Regions from separate parts of the Homo sapiens genome. Here regions 1 and 3 are each linked to region 2. The links are contacts of gene promoters, found by promoter capture Hi-C in human tissues and cell types (Jung and others, 2019). All regions are on one chromosome and are shown on one strand. The core of a region is centred on a gene start or on the middle of the fragment in contact, and the rest is flanking DNA. Distances in the headings are between cores, read along the strand shown. Region 1 holds the start of PTH2 (parathyroid hormone 2). Region 2 holds the start of BAX (BCL2 associated X, apoptosis regulator). Region 3 holds the start of SLC6A16 (solute carrier family 6 member 16).

Evidence for each region. Contacts are between HindIII fragments. The study calls those that stand out against the background at their distance.
Region 1: the fragment with the promoter of PTH2 here is called in contact with the fragment with the promoter of BAX in region 2 in 1 of the 25 tissues and cell types used here (spleen).
Region 3: the fragment with the promoter of SLC6A16 here is called in contact with the fragment with the promoter of BAX in region 2 in 1 of the 25 tissues and cell types used here (liver).

The regions. Positions count from the first base shown.
Region 1 is chr19:49,420,513-49,425,095 of GRCh38, forward strand. PTH2 (parathyroid hormone 2) reads right to left here and starts at 2,929. Exons shown (of 2, transcript NM_178449.4): 1 at 2,700-2,929; 2 at 1,907-2,130. The coding sequence starts at 2,827. The coding sequence ends at 1,956. It also overlaps a transcript of GFY not described here. RefSeq lists a silencer at 3,045-3,248. The HindIII fragment of the contact is 12,103 bases long and covers 1-4,583 here.
Region 2 is chr19:48,952,453-48,956,893 of GRCh38, forward strand. BAX (BCL2 associated X, apoptosis regulator) reads left to right here and starts at 2,423. Exons shown (of 6, transcript NM_138761.4): 1 at 2,423-2,510; 2 at 3,096-3,147; 3 at 3,235-3,381; 4 at 3,746-3,881. The coding sequence starts at 2,477. RefSeq lists enhancers at 2,102-2,670, 2,671-3,238, 2,688-2,897 and a silencer at 2,418-2,567. The HindIII fragment of the contact is 13,021 bases long and covers 1-4,441 here.
Region 3 is chr19:49,322,919-49,327,834 of GRCh38, forward strand. It overlaps SLC6A16 (solute carrier family 6 member 16), which reads right to left and starts at 2,273. Exons shown (of 12, transcript NM_014037.3): 1 at 2,130-2,273. RefSeq lists an enhancer at 3,437-3,586 and a silencer at 4,380-4,531. The HindIII fragment of the contact is 19,669 bases long and covers 928-4,916 here.

The DNA of each region.
Region 1 (4,583 bases), core at 1,679-4,178, 470 kb after region 2:
AGTGAGTTCAGAGAAAGACTCAGTTCATTTAGGGGCTGGAGTCCTGAGCCCTGAGCTCCCAGGCTGGAGAAGGGGGTCTGGGTGTTGTCAGCTGTGGGTGGTGGCAGAAGCTGTGGGGACTGCTGAATTTGCTTGAGAGTAGAGTGGGGAGGGAGGAGGCTCCAGACACCATTTTGAGCAAAACCTCAAATGTTCTGATACGGATCGGGAAGAAAATAGAGTGTGGGAAGAGACCAGGCCAGTACCCAGCTACCAGGCCCGCGGGGAAACAGGAGGAGGCTCTTCATAGGGTCTTTGTGAGGTTAAAAGAGTTAATGCAAGCACAGCACTTAGAAGAGTGCCTGCTATATAGCAACTGCTCATTCACATTTTCATTCCATTTCTCCATGAGAGTGGCGGAAAAGTCTAGACTTTTGAAATTGCACATACCCGGATTCCAGTTATTCTTTTGTCGCTTAGTAGCTCTAACAACTTAGGAAAATTCCTCCTGACTTTCAGTCTTATTTGTAAAATTAGGCCAACTCCAGATAGTTTTGAGGAATGCAGTCTTTCCTTTGTTATTCGGAAGGACAGAGGAAACAGTCCCGCCCCCACAGTCCAAGGGCCAATTAGGGCTCGGTCCGCCTCCCGAAAATGCAAATTTTGGGACGCCTTGCCAAACACGCGCGGCGGCCCCGCTTCCCGCGCAGCAGACGCGGCCGGCTCCACTCTCTTCTTTAAACCAATGAGAGCGCGGTCCGCACGAACGGCGCCCCAGGCGCGCTGATCTAGCCCTCTGCGGACCACCGGGTTGCCATGGTTACCACGAGGGGCGGAGCTGAAGGGCAGGCTGGACCTCCGGGGAGAGAGACAGATTTCGATTGGCTCTTTTCTCGCTTCACCTGCAGCCCAGGTATCTTCCCGCCCTTTCCCTGTCCTTTTTGGAGCCTGACGCCTGCTCCTTTCTCTTCTCCTGCCCCAGCCTGGCGCCCCGAAGGTCTCTAGAGAAGGAGACCCGAAGTCAGAAAACCCTGAAAAAAATTGCTGGACGCTGCTGTGAGAAGAGGAAACCCTTTTCAAATAAAAGCGTTTTGCTACGTAACGGGCGCTGTACTGAAGTCTTATGAAGTATATCTTATTGGATCCTCGTAACAGATGAAGAAAAGGAGACACAGAGACTGACGTCAAGAAGGCTTTCTCAGTACTACGCAGCTAGATTTGGAGGACCCTGGGTTTGGATGCTAGGGCTGCCTCACACCAGAGCCCGCGATCTTTCCACTGTGCCTGGGGAGAAGTCTGGAAGTGATGGGAGGGAGGAACAGCGAAATTCAAAGATGAGAGCTGATGGAGAGACAGATAGAAACCTAACGGAGGAAAGAAAAGGAAGATATGAAGGAGTCAGGCAGAGGAAAAAGGAAAAAAGAAAGTGATGGAGAAGGGAAGGAAGAGTTTCAGAGGCAGAAGGAGAATAGAGAGAGGAGGCAGAGATTCCCAGAAGACCAGAAAGCCAAAAGGGTGAAAGGGGAGATAACCACAAGGACCCAGGGAGACGGGGACACATACCCAGAGAGGAAAGAGACCCAGAGAAAGGGACAGAGACGGAGGAGGACAGAGACCTTGGAGATTACAGAGAACCAGAGAGAAGGGGACAGAGATGGGGGTAGGGAGGGACAGGGGCCCAGAATGAAAGGAGGGGGCGGGGGGGTGGGGGCGATAGGGAAGCAGAGATCCAGAAATAGGAAAGAAGCCAGCTTCCTGGACAAAGACAGGCAGAGAGAAACGGAATTGAGGAAAGAAAATAGAGTGGGGACTGAGGAGAGAGATGCCAGAGTGGCCGACACAGAGTCCTGTCTCTTTTCTACCCCCCATTTCAAGCCCCGCGCCCCCAACCCAACGCACACGCAGGTCGCGCAGGAACTAGGCGCAGTCCGGAGCGCAGGGCATGGTCTTTATTAAGATGGGGACGGGCAGCGCGCTCAGGGCGCATCCAACACCAGCAGCTTGTGCATGTACGAGTTCAGCCAGTGGCGGCGCTCGAGGGCGGCCAGCAACCGCGCGCGCTCCCGGAAGGCCGCGTCGTCCGCCAGCGCCAGGCTCCTCCGCGGCCTGGGGGTGGCGGGATCCGCCCAGGCCCGTCCTGGGGGGCGGAGGCTGTGGAGAGACGCGGTGACCGCGCGTCCAGACTCGCTCTTGCCGCCGCCTGTCCTCCCCGCGGTCTAACTCGAAGCCCCGTTACTGCCCAGTCCGTGGAGTGGCTCGGTCCGGCTCCCCCTGTCTCTCTCGTTCTCTGTGTGGGTCTCTGTCTCTCTGCTCACCAGGTTCGAAACTCCCCAGGTACTGAGACCGAGTCTGATGCACTTGTCCGCCCACAGCGCTCAGCGCATGGCCAGGCGCACACCAAGAACCCAATAAACGTTGCTCAAAGAATGAATCCGTTTCTGCAACGACTCCTTTCGAGCCTCTCCACGCCTTTCTCGGGATCTATCTTTCTGTGTCTCTTTCCCTTGCTGATTTTCTGTCCATTTCCCGCACCACCACTACCACCAAACCCTCCTCCCGCCTTCCCCCACCCCTAGTCTCTGTCTTCTCGCTGGGTCTCGGTCGCCCTCTCTTTGGGCTTCTGTTCCGCTTTCTGGATCTTCCGTCCCCTTTCTCTTTGGTTCTCTTCCCACTTCTCCAAGTTCCCACCCCTCCCTGGGAGTTCTGGGACTGGCACCTACCTGAGGACCCCGACCGGGGGCAGGGCGACTCCCGAGGCAGTGCGGACGCCCCAGGGCACCACCAGCAGCAGCAGCAGCAGCAGCAGCAGCCGAACCCGAGGGCTCCTGGACACCTGGCGGGTCTCCATCACCTGTGGAGAACCAGAAAGGGGCTCAGTAGGGCTGCATCCCGGCCCAGAACCCCGGGCCCCACCATGCATCCACCCCCAGCTTCCCGCACAGTCCCCTACCGTGCAGTGGGCTGGGGCAGCGATGGTGGCAGCCCCCTTATATCGCCTCCGCAGCCCCCGCACCGGGCAGTGACGCAGGCCGGGGGGCCGGGGACGCGGGGTCACCCCCTCCCCAGGCTCATTAGGAGCCGCCAGCGGTAATGAGGAGCCGGGGGTGGGGGACCTGCCGCTGCCTTGGCCGCCACCAACTAATTGGGACCAGAAGCTGGACCTGAGACGAGGGAGGGGGAGAGACAGACAGACAGAGAGGTGGACACAGGGGGTGTGTCAGAGGGCTAAAAATAGAGACTGGCGGAAGGACCGTCAGAGGAACAGAGACACAAAGAGAAGGACAAAGACAGAGTGGCCGAGGAAGAAATAGAGAGAAAGAATGGGAACGACAGAAAAAGAAAGGAAAAGGAAGAAAACAAGAAAAGAGAGCGAAGGAGATGGAAACGAACAGTCAGATGGAGATGGAGGAGGGAAAGAAAAGGCTCTCAGAAAGACAGACGGAAATGGAAGGACGTCCTGGTCTGGAAGGAGCTGCCCAGAGATAAATACAGCAGCGAGAGGCCCAGAAAGATCGAGGGTGAGGTAGGGAGGGGGGAAAGGCAAGAAATGGCAAAGGGTACGTGTGGCAGGGGTGTGAGGACAGGAAAAGTGACAGACCACATCAGAAAAACCTCAGAGAGTGAGAAGAGGGGAAAACAGACAGGGCTCCTGAGCTGCCCTAAGGATGTGTCTAAGCCCTTATCTGGGAGGAGTTTGGGGGTGCTGTGAAGATTAAAGCCCAGTCCTCCTCACACTGACTCTTTTTGTGTGTGTGTGTTTGTCTGTTTGAGATGGAGTCTTGCTCTTGTTGCCCAGGCTGGAGTGCAATGGCACTATCTCGGCTCACTGCAACCTCCACCTCCCAGGTTCAAGCCATTGTCCTGCCTCAGCCTCCCGAGTAGCTGGGATTACAGGTGCCCACCATCACGCCCAGCTAATTTTTGTATTTTTAGTAGAGATAGGGTTTCGCCAAACTGTTGGCCAGGCTGGTCTTGAACTCCTGACCTTGTGATCTGCCCTCCTTGGCCTCCCAGAGTGTTGGGATTACAGGCGTGAGCCAGCACACCCAGTCCACACTGACTCTTAAGAGGGGCCTCAGCCGGGTGCTGTGGCTCATGCCTGTAATCCCAGCACTTTGGAAGGCCGTGGTGGGTGGATCACTTGAGGTCAGGAGTTCGAGACCAGACTGGCCAACATGGCGAAACTCCTTCTCTACAAAAATACATAAATTAGGTGTGGTGTAATCCCAGCTACTTGGGAGGCTGAGGCAGGAAAATCGCTTGAACCTGGGAGAGGGAGGTTGCAGTGAGCTGAGATCGCACCACTGCACTCCAGCCTGGGCAACAGAGTGAGACTCTGTCTCAAAAAAAAAAAAAAATTTAAAAAGAGGGGCCTTTATACACAGTGAGGAGAAGATGGGCAAAACTTGGAAGTCCTACAGAGCAGTAGAAACTTGGGATGTGGGAACTTGGGCTCCTAGTTTCCTAGGAAGGTGGTGGCAGAAGCTTGGACTCCTGAGTCTAAGAGTGGATGGGACAGGGACCCAGATTCCTATGTTCTGGGGAAGGAGGAGGCTGGGGACTTGGATTCCTGAATCTGAGGAAGGAAGGAGCTAGAGGACTGG
Region 2 (4,441 bases), core at 1,173-3,672:
TCGGCCTCCCACACAGCTGGTATTACAGGTGTGAGCTACCACGCCCGGCCCCCCCTCCTTTCTTTTGTTTTTTAGTTGACACAGGGTCTCACCATGGTACAGCCCAGGCTGGTCCTGAACTCCTGGCTTCAGGTGATCCTCCTGCCTTGGCCTCCCAAAGTGCTGGGACTATAGGAATGAGCCATCACACCTGGCCCCTTTCTTCAATTTTCAAAACAAACTGATCCTTCAAGGTCAAGAGGAAATACCTCCTCTGAGAAGTCTTCTCTGAATGTCAGAGGCAGACAATGTCTGATTTCTGCATGCTCCCCAACATTCAATCATACAGTTATTGAATAACACATTTTGAGAGATAACTATGAATCAAGTAACATGCTGGTTTCTGGGAGAATTGAGGACAAATTAACCTTGTGGAAATTTTGGGTGGATGAAAAAAACCAACATGAAATTAAAACACTGCACACATTTACAGCTGTGAGAAGCATTACACATCCTGGGTGCTATGCGAGCTTTTTTTTTTTTTTTTTTTTTTTTTGAGTTGGAGTTTCCCTCTTGTTACTGAGGCTGGAGTGCAAGGTCACGATCTCAGCTCACTGCAACCTCTGCCTCCAGATTCAAACGATTCCCCTGCCTCAGCTCCCGAGTAGCTGGGACTACAGGTGCCTGCCACCACACCTGGCTAATTTAGAATTTTTAGTAGGGATAGGGTTTCACCGTGTTGGCCAGGCTGGTCTCAAACTCCTGACCTCAGGTGATCTACCCATCTCGGCCTCCCAAAGTGCTGGGATTACAGAAGTGAGCCACTGAGCCCAACCAGGAGCTTTTTCGAGAAAGAAGGAAGTCCAAGAGATCTTCCTGACACCCTAGTCTGACTCTGCCCTTTGCCTGCTCAAAATTTCCCCATGCTTCCCAGCGGCCTTCTGGACATAGATCAAGTCCCTTCTCTGACAGGCCCAAACCCTTTATCATCTGATCCTAGCTCATTTTTCTGAGTTTTCCTTAGTTGCTATTATTTTCTGTCTAAAGTGACATGTCATAATATTCATAAAGCACACAAGTCTTATGTGTACAGCTCAATGAATTGTAAATATGTGTATACCCGGCCGGGCACAGTGGCTCACGCCTGTAATCCCAGCACTTTGGGAGGCCGAGGCAGGTGGATCACTTGAGGTCAGGAGCTTGAGACCAGCCTGACCAACATAGTGAAACCCCATCTTTACTAAAAATACAAAATTAGCTGGGCGTGGTGTCGCATGCCTGCAATTCCAGCTACTTGGGAGGCTGAGGCAGGAGAATTGCTTGAACCCGGAGGCAGAGGTTGCAGTAAGCCGAGATCGTGCCATTGCACTCCATCCTGGGCAACAAGAGCAAAACTCCGTCTCAAAATAATAATAATAATAATAATAATAATAATAATAATAATGTGTATACCCATGTAAACACCATTCAGATAAAAATATGGCATATTTGGGGCACCCGGGGAGTGTCTCTTGTGGCCCCTCCCCTCCATACCCTGCTGATCTATCAGCACAGATTAGTTTCTGCCACTTTTTAAACTTCATATTCCTTTTCTTTTTACACAAACACAAACATTCGAGTCATGACTGGGTGGGGTGGCTCAAGCCTGTAATCTCAGCACTTTGGGAGGCCAAGGTGCGAGGATCGCTTGAGTCTGGGAGTTCAGAGACCAGCCTGGGCAACATAGAGAGACCTCATCTCCACATAAAAAGTTTTAAAAATTAACCAGGGGCGGTGTAGTCCCAGCTACTCAGGAGGCTGAGGTGGGAGGCTTCAGCCCGGGAATTCCAGACTGCAGTGAGCCATGATTGGGCCACTGCACTCCAGCCTGGGCAACACAGTGAGACCCTGTCTCAAAAAAAAAAAAAAAAAAAACAGGAAAAAACAAACAAACAGAAAAGCAGGCCTGGCGCGGTAGCTCATGCCTGTAATCCCAGCGCTTTGGAAGGCTGAGACGGGGTTATCTCTTGGGCTCACAAGTTAGAGACAAGCCTGGGCGTGGGCTATATTGCTAGATCCAGGTCTCTGCAAAAAACAAAACCACTCAGTTTTTAGTCATCTATAACGTCCTGCCTGGAAGCATGCTATTTTGGGCCTCTGAGCTTTTGCACTTGCTAATTCCTTCTGCGCTGGGGAGAGCTCAAACCCTGCCCGAAACTTCTAAAAATGGTGCCTGGATAAATGAAGGCATTAGAGCTGCGATTGGACGGACGGCTGTTGGACGGCGCCACTGCTGGCACTTATCGGGAGATGCTCATTGGACAGTCACGTGACGGGACCAAACCTCCCGAGGGAGCGAGGCAGGTGCGGTCACGTGACCCGGCGGCGCTGCGGGGCAGCGGCCATTTTGCGGGGCGGCCACGTGAAGGACGCACGTTCAGCGGGGCTCTCACGTGACCCGGGCGCGCTGCGGCCGCCCGCGCGGACCCGGCGAGAGGCGGCGGCGGGAGCGGCGGTGATGGACGGGTCCGGGGAGCAGCCCAGAGGCGGGGGTGAGGCGGGAGGCAGACGGGCGGGAGGAGGGCGAGCCCCCTCGCCGGCCCGTCCGGGATCCTTCCTACCGGCCTGGGGCTGTGCGATCTCCAAGCACTGAGGGGCAGAAACTCCCGGATCGGGCGCTGCCAGCCTCCAGTCCCCTCCGTCCTCGGAGGTTCCTGGCTCTCTGATCCCCGTGTCCCGATCCCTGCCTCTCTGGCGCTCTCGGACCCTCGAGAACCAGGGGATCTCGGAAGCCAAGCCCCCGGGCAGGCCCGGGCTTGTCGCCCGCACCACTTCCTGCCTCTGGCACTGGTGGGAGGGGCGGGTCTCGCCTCTGCCCCCTCAGGCCAGGGGTCTGGATGCATATAGCGTTCCCCTAGCCTCTTTCCCCGGGGAGAATGTAGGATACAGGCCCAGCCTCCTGGCCTTTCTCCATCAGGGACTCAGTTGTCTGGGCCCCCCCGTCACTTTATCTGCTAGGGTCCCAGAAGTCCAGGGTCCCCAGCTCTGTCCTCCCTCAGGGGCCGTGAGTCTCCACAGTCTCCTGATCCCCTAGAACCCAAGAGTCCAGGTACCTCTTCCCTTCCTTTCTCCTCTAGGGCCCACCAGCTCTGAGCAGATCATGAAGACAGGGGCCCTTTTGCTTCAGGGGTGAGTTTGAGGTCTGATTATTGTGGCACAGATTTGAGGAGTGACACCCCGTTCTGATTCTGCACCCTCACTCCATCCCCACTCTAGTTTCATCCAGGATCGAGCAGGGCGAATGGGGGGGGAGGCACCCGAGCTGGCCCTGGACCCGGTGCCTCAGGATGCGTCCACCAAGAAGCTGAGCGAGTGTCTCAAGCGCATCGGGGACGAACTGGACAGTAACATGGAGCTGCAGAGGTGTGGGCCCCTGAGGACCCAGAAGTCCAGCCACTGGGCTCCTTCAGGACACAGGACTCTCAGCCCCGCATTCTCCTCCTCCCCTAAGAACTAGGAGTCTGGGCCCCACAACTCAGCGCAAACATTCCGGACTCCCAGCCCTCCTCTCTGCCAGGATCTTAAAACCCTCCTTCAGGGAGTCATTTTTCCCACCTTCCTAAATGTCTGTCTTGTCCCCTTCCCTTGTCCCCCGTTGGCCTGTTGCTTTTCATTTCAGCCTGGCTTGGGGCTCAGTCTCCTTATCTTTAGTGTGCGGTGGATGCGGGAATTTTCCACCATCAGCCTGATGCCTGCTCCCCGGCACTGGTTCTCCTCTCTCCTGCAGGATGATTGCCGCCGTGGACACAGACTCCCCCCGAGAGGTCTTTTTCCGAGTGGCAGCTGACATGTTTTCTGACGGCAACTTCAACTGGGGCCGGGTTGTCGCCCTTTTCTACTTTGCCAGCAAACTGGTGCTCAAGGTGGGCAGCTGCAGGGCAGTGAGCCCAGGGATGCTCCCCCTCAGATCTGTGAGGACCTGGGGATCGTGGTATCAACCCCCTGCAGTGGCCCAGTGACCACAGAGGGCATGGAGAGAGATGGCTGTGCACTGGGTGTCTGCTCCTTCTTTTATTCATTCAACAAGCATTTACTGGACCTGCTATGTGCCAGGCCTATACCTGGCACCTGGGACACAGCACTGTACAAAGCAGGCTACATCCCTGCTCTCAGGGAGTTCACGTGCAGGGGTGAAGTAAAGTGGGCAGTGTGATTTAGCAGAGTGGTCAGGAAAGATTTCTATTTTTTTTTTTTTTTTTTTTGAGATGGAGTTTTGCTCTTGTTGCCCAGGCTTGAGTGCAATGGCATGATCTTGGTTCACTGCAACCTCTGCCTCCCAGGTTCAAGCGATTCTCCTGCCTCAGCTTCCTGAGTAGCTGGGATTATGGGTGTGCACCATTATCCCTGGCTTTTTTTTTTTTTTTTTTTTTTTTTGTATTTTTAGTAGAGACGGGTTTCACCATGTTGGTCAGGCTGGTCTTGA
Region 3 (4,916 bases), core at 1,023-3,522, 370 kb after region 2:
AGCCAAAATAATCTTGAAAAAGAAGAAAAACGCTGGTGTACTCACATTTCCTGATTTCAAAACATATTACAAAGCTATAGTAATCAAAATAGTGTGTTACTCACATAAAGATACAGACCAAGGGAACAGAATAGAGGGCCCAGAAACAATGTATGGAAAAATGATTTTTTACAAGGGTGCCAAGACTACTCAATGAGTAAAGGACAGTCTTTTCAACAAATGGTGCTGGGAAAACTGGATTATGTACAGGCAAAAGAGTAAAGATGGACTCTTACCTAACACCACATACAAATACACAAAATAAATCAAAGACCTAAATGTAACACTTAAAATTATAAAATTCTTAGAATAAAACATACGACAAAAGCTTCATGATAGTGGATCTGCAATGAATTCTTGGATATGATACCAAAGGCAAAAGCAACAAAAGAAGAAACAAACAGGATTTCATTAAAATGTTTTAAATTTGTGCATCAAGAGACACTATCAAAGGGGTGAAAAGATAACCCACAGAATGGGAGGAAATATCTGAAAATCATATGTATAATAAGAGATTAATATTCAGAATATATAGAGAACTCGTAAAACTCAACAACAAAGAAACAAACAACACAATTCAAAAATGGGCAAAAGACTTAAATAGACATTTCTCCAAGGAAGATATACCAATCTCCAAGAAGTACATGAAAAGATGTTCAACGTCACTAATCATTAAGGAAATGCAAATGAAAACTACAATGAGATAATACCTCGCATCCATTAGGATGGCTAATATAAAAAGGCAGAAAATAAGAAGTGTTGGTGAGGATGTGGAGAAATTGGAATCCTTGTGCCTTGCTGGTCAGAATGTAAAATGGTGCAACCACCATGGAAAACACTATGGTGGTTCCTCAAAAACTTAAAAATAGAATTACCATATGATCCAGCAATTCCACTTCTGGGTATACACCCAAAATAAGTGAAAACCAAGCCTCCAGTGGCTCAGCCTGTAATCCCAGCTCTTTGAAAGGCTGAGGTGGAAGGATTGCTTGAGCCCAGAAGTTCGAGGCTGTAGTGAGAGGTGATCATGCCACTGGACTCCAGCCTGGGAGACAGAGAGAGACCCTGTCTCTTAAAAATAATAATAATAGGCTGGGCACGGGGGTTCACACCTGTAATCTCAGCACTTTAGGAAGCTGAGGCGGGTGGATCGGCTGAGGTCAGGAGCTCGAGACCAGCCAGGCCAACACAGTGAAACCCCGTTTCTACTAAAAATACAAAAAATTAGCTGGGGGTGGTGGCGCACGCCTATAGTCCCAGCTACTTGGGAGGCTGAGGCAGGAGAATCGCTTGAACCTGGGAAGCAGAGGTTGCAGTGAGCTGAGATCGTGCCACTGCACTCCAGCCTGGGTGACAGAGTGGGACTCCATCTCAAATAAATAAATAAATAAAAAATAATAGATTCATGTTTCTTAAACACATTCTAGAACAGTTGTCCTTAAAAGCAAGCTTTACGGAAGGGAGAGAACTGAGTTTTGGCCAGCTGGCCACTTCCAACATCCATAAAGCCCCTTGAGCCCCAGGCGGACTCCTCTTCCCATATGGGTGCAACCCTCCATGGTGCCCCTACACCGTCATCCCAAGCAACTCCTAGGCTCATGCCCTGTGGGGAGTGCTCAGGATCCCCCAGAAATGCCCATTCCCCTCACATTACCTCCTTCCCTGGAACTATAACCTCCAGAAAAGGAAAATAAGGAGCTGGTGTCCCATTTCTGCAAAAAGCAGAAAATAACTGCCCTAACAGACCAGTGATGGGGCTAGACCCGGGTTTCTGCCACTCGGGCACTTGACACTGATGGCTTTCCCCAAAGGCAGGGACTGATGGCCGAATCCTGTCAAGGAATTGGCTCAAACTCGGACTGGATGAGTGAGGAGAGCCGAAGACAGTTTCCTCTGTCCTACGTGGGGGGTAAAGGAGGGACCCCTTTGATCCCTCAGCTCCACAGAGCCCAGGGCAACCAGGAGGCTCCCAGCCAGTCACCTGTCACCCGTCAGTGGAGCCCAGTGGGCCCGGGCCTCGAAAATGGCGCCCAGCCCCACACACCCCAGATGTGGGAACATTTTAGGGCTCCCTGGGCCGTGACCCTCACCCTAGCCCCAAGGCTTCTGCCAGGTTCTTCAGTCCAGCCAGTCGGACAAAAATGAGGGTGAAGAAGCCCCAGCTGAGAAGCCTAGCAATCTCCTCAGGCCCCTTCAGGCGTCGACAGATCGGTTTGGGCGACACCCCTCGATCTGCCTGGCGCGCGGCCTTTCCCGCCGATTCTCTGCGCATGCGCCGCCGCGCCCCCTCACTCTTTCCCTACAGCTGTAGCAAACACTGTAACCACTTCGCCCTCCCCAACTCCCTGCTCTCTCCCCACACGCACGCACGTGTGCACATCCTCTGACTGCTCACGCGCCACTCCCTTCCCCACCGCACCCCACCCCGACACCCACGATGCCACGCTTCAGGCGGGGCTCTAAGACAAGGCCTTTCTCTGGCACATGCACTTTGCTTCCACTTCATGTAAGGAAGAAGAGGGTAGGAAGTGGGAGAATCGTCTCATTCATTCCTTCTAGCCTTCAAACCTTTCGCATTTACTTAAAGATCGCCTACTAGAAACCAAACCTTAAATATGCGTCCAACAAGGCAGACAGGGACGTTGCCTTAAGAGAGCTCAGAAGCCTACTAGGGCTGCAGACAAGAATTAAAAACTCAAAGATTTACTTAGGTCATCCGTTCTCATACTTTCCGGTCTCTTAAGAATTATTAAGGACTCCAATAATTTATGAGTTACATTTATATGGGTTGTATGTTTATGTGAGTTGTATCTATCAATATTAAAATAAATTTCTAAAATAGTCATTGTTTAAAAATTCATTATGTGTCAAAATAACATTTTTATTTAAAATAACTATAATTTCTACTCCAAAAGAAATTTTGGCGCTGGGCGCGGTGGCTGACGCCTGTAATCCCAGCACTTTGGGAGGCCAAGGCGGGTGGATCACGAGGTCAGGAGTTCGAGACTAGCTTGGCCAACATGATGAAACCCCGTCTCTACTAAAAGTCAAAAAAAAAAAAAATTAGCCGGGCGTGGTGGCACACACCTGTAATCCCAGCTACTCGGGAGCCTGAGGCAGGAGAATCGTTGGAACCCAGGAGGCAGAGGTTGCAATGAGCCGAGATTTTGCCACTGCACTCCAGCCTAGACAACAGAGCAAGACTCCGTCTCAAAAAAAAAAAGGAAAAAAAAGAAAAAATTTGGGGAGAAGAATGGCATCATTTTACATTTTTGCAAATCTCTCTAATGTCTGGCTTCATAGAAGACAGCTGGATTCTCATATCTGCTTCTGCACTGAGTGTGTCAAAATAGCTCATGTCTTGTAGCTTCTGGCAAACATCACTATATTCAAAGAGGAAATGAAAGTGAAAGGCAAATAATATCTTAGTAGTATTATGAAAATAATGTTCACCTCATGGACCCCCAAAAGTGTTTCAAGAGCCCCCAGGAGTCCCTGAGCCACACTTTGAGAATGAAAGGCTTAAATTGTTATGATTGAACAAAGAGATGAAGAGGAAATTTTGGGGGTGCTGTAAGAATTCATCACAATCTTTGGGAATCATTCAATCTTTCAACACGTATTTATCGAGAGTCTACTAAATGCTAGGAACTGGGAATAGTGTAGAGAACAAAACAGACCCCATTCCTGCCCTCGTTTTGCTTCACACAACAAGAAAACAGATATATGATGAATCTCAAATAATTACATGATTATAAATTGTATTAAGTGCTATGACAGGCCGGGCATGGTGGCTCACGCCTGTAATCCCAGCACTTTGGGAGGCCAAGGTGGGCGGATCACATGAGGCCAGGAGTTCAAGACCAGCCTGGCCAACATGGTGAAACCCCATCTCTACTAAAAATACAAAAACGAGCCAGGTGTGGTGGTGCACGCCTGTAATCCCAGCTACTCGGGTGGCTGAGGCACAAGAATCACTTAAAACCATGAGGCAGAAGTTGCAGTAAGCCAAGATCACACTACTACACTCCAGCCTGGGTGATGGGGTAAGACCCTGTCTCAAGGAAAAAAAAAAAAGTGCTGCGACAGAAAAGGGCCACAGACCTATTTATTTCTATCGAATTTTTTTTTTTTTTGAGACAATCTCACTTTGTCACCCAGGCTGAAGTGCAGTGGCATAATCTCGGCTCACTGCAACCTCTGCCTCCCGGGTTCAAGCAATTCTCCCTGCCTCAGCCTTCCGAGTAGCTGGGGTTGCAGGTGCCTGCCATTACGCCTGGTTAATTTTCATATTTTTAGTAGAGTCAGGGTTTAGTAGAGTCAGCCTGCCATGTTGGCCAGGCTGGTCTTGAACTCCTGACCTCAGGTGATCCGCCCGCCTCAGCCTCCCAAAGTGCTGGGATTACAGGCGTGAGCCACTGCGCCCGGCCCATAGACCTAATTTAGAAGGAGGATTTCTCTAAGGAAATAACACTGGAGTTGAGGCTTAAAGGATTATTTGCTAGGTGAAAAATGTGTGTGAACATCTCAAGCCTTGAGGCTGTGCAAAGGCCCTGAGGCAGGGCAAACTGTGTGTTCAAGGCACCAGGAAAAGTCTCAGTCGGTCAATAAATATTTATTGAATGATGTGCCCCACACTGTCCTAGACCCCTGGGATATAGTTATGAAAAAGATTTTACGTTCCAGTTGCACAAAGAAAGTAAATGCCTAAATAGAAAGAATTTCAGAGAGTAAGAGTGCTGATAGGGAGTTACTTTAGACAGGGTAGTCAAGAAGGACTCTTGGGGAAAGTGATATTTCAGCAGAGAGCTGAAGGAAGGGAGCCTTGTGAACAGCATAGGGAAGAACATTCCAGGCAAAGAAAATGGCAACAGCAA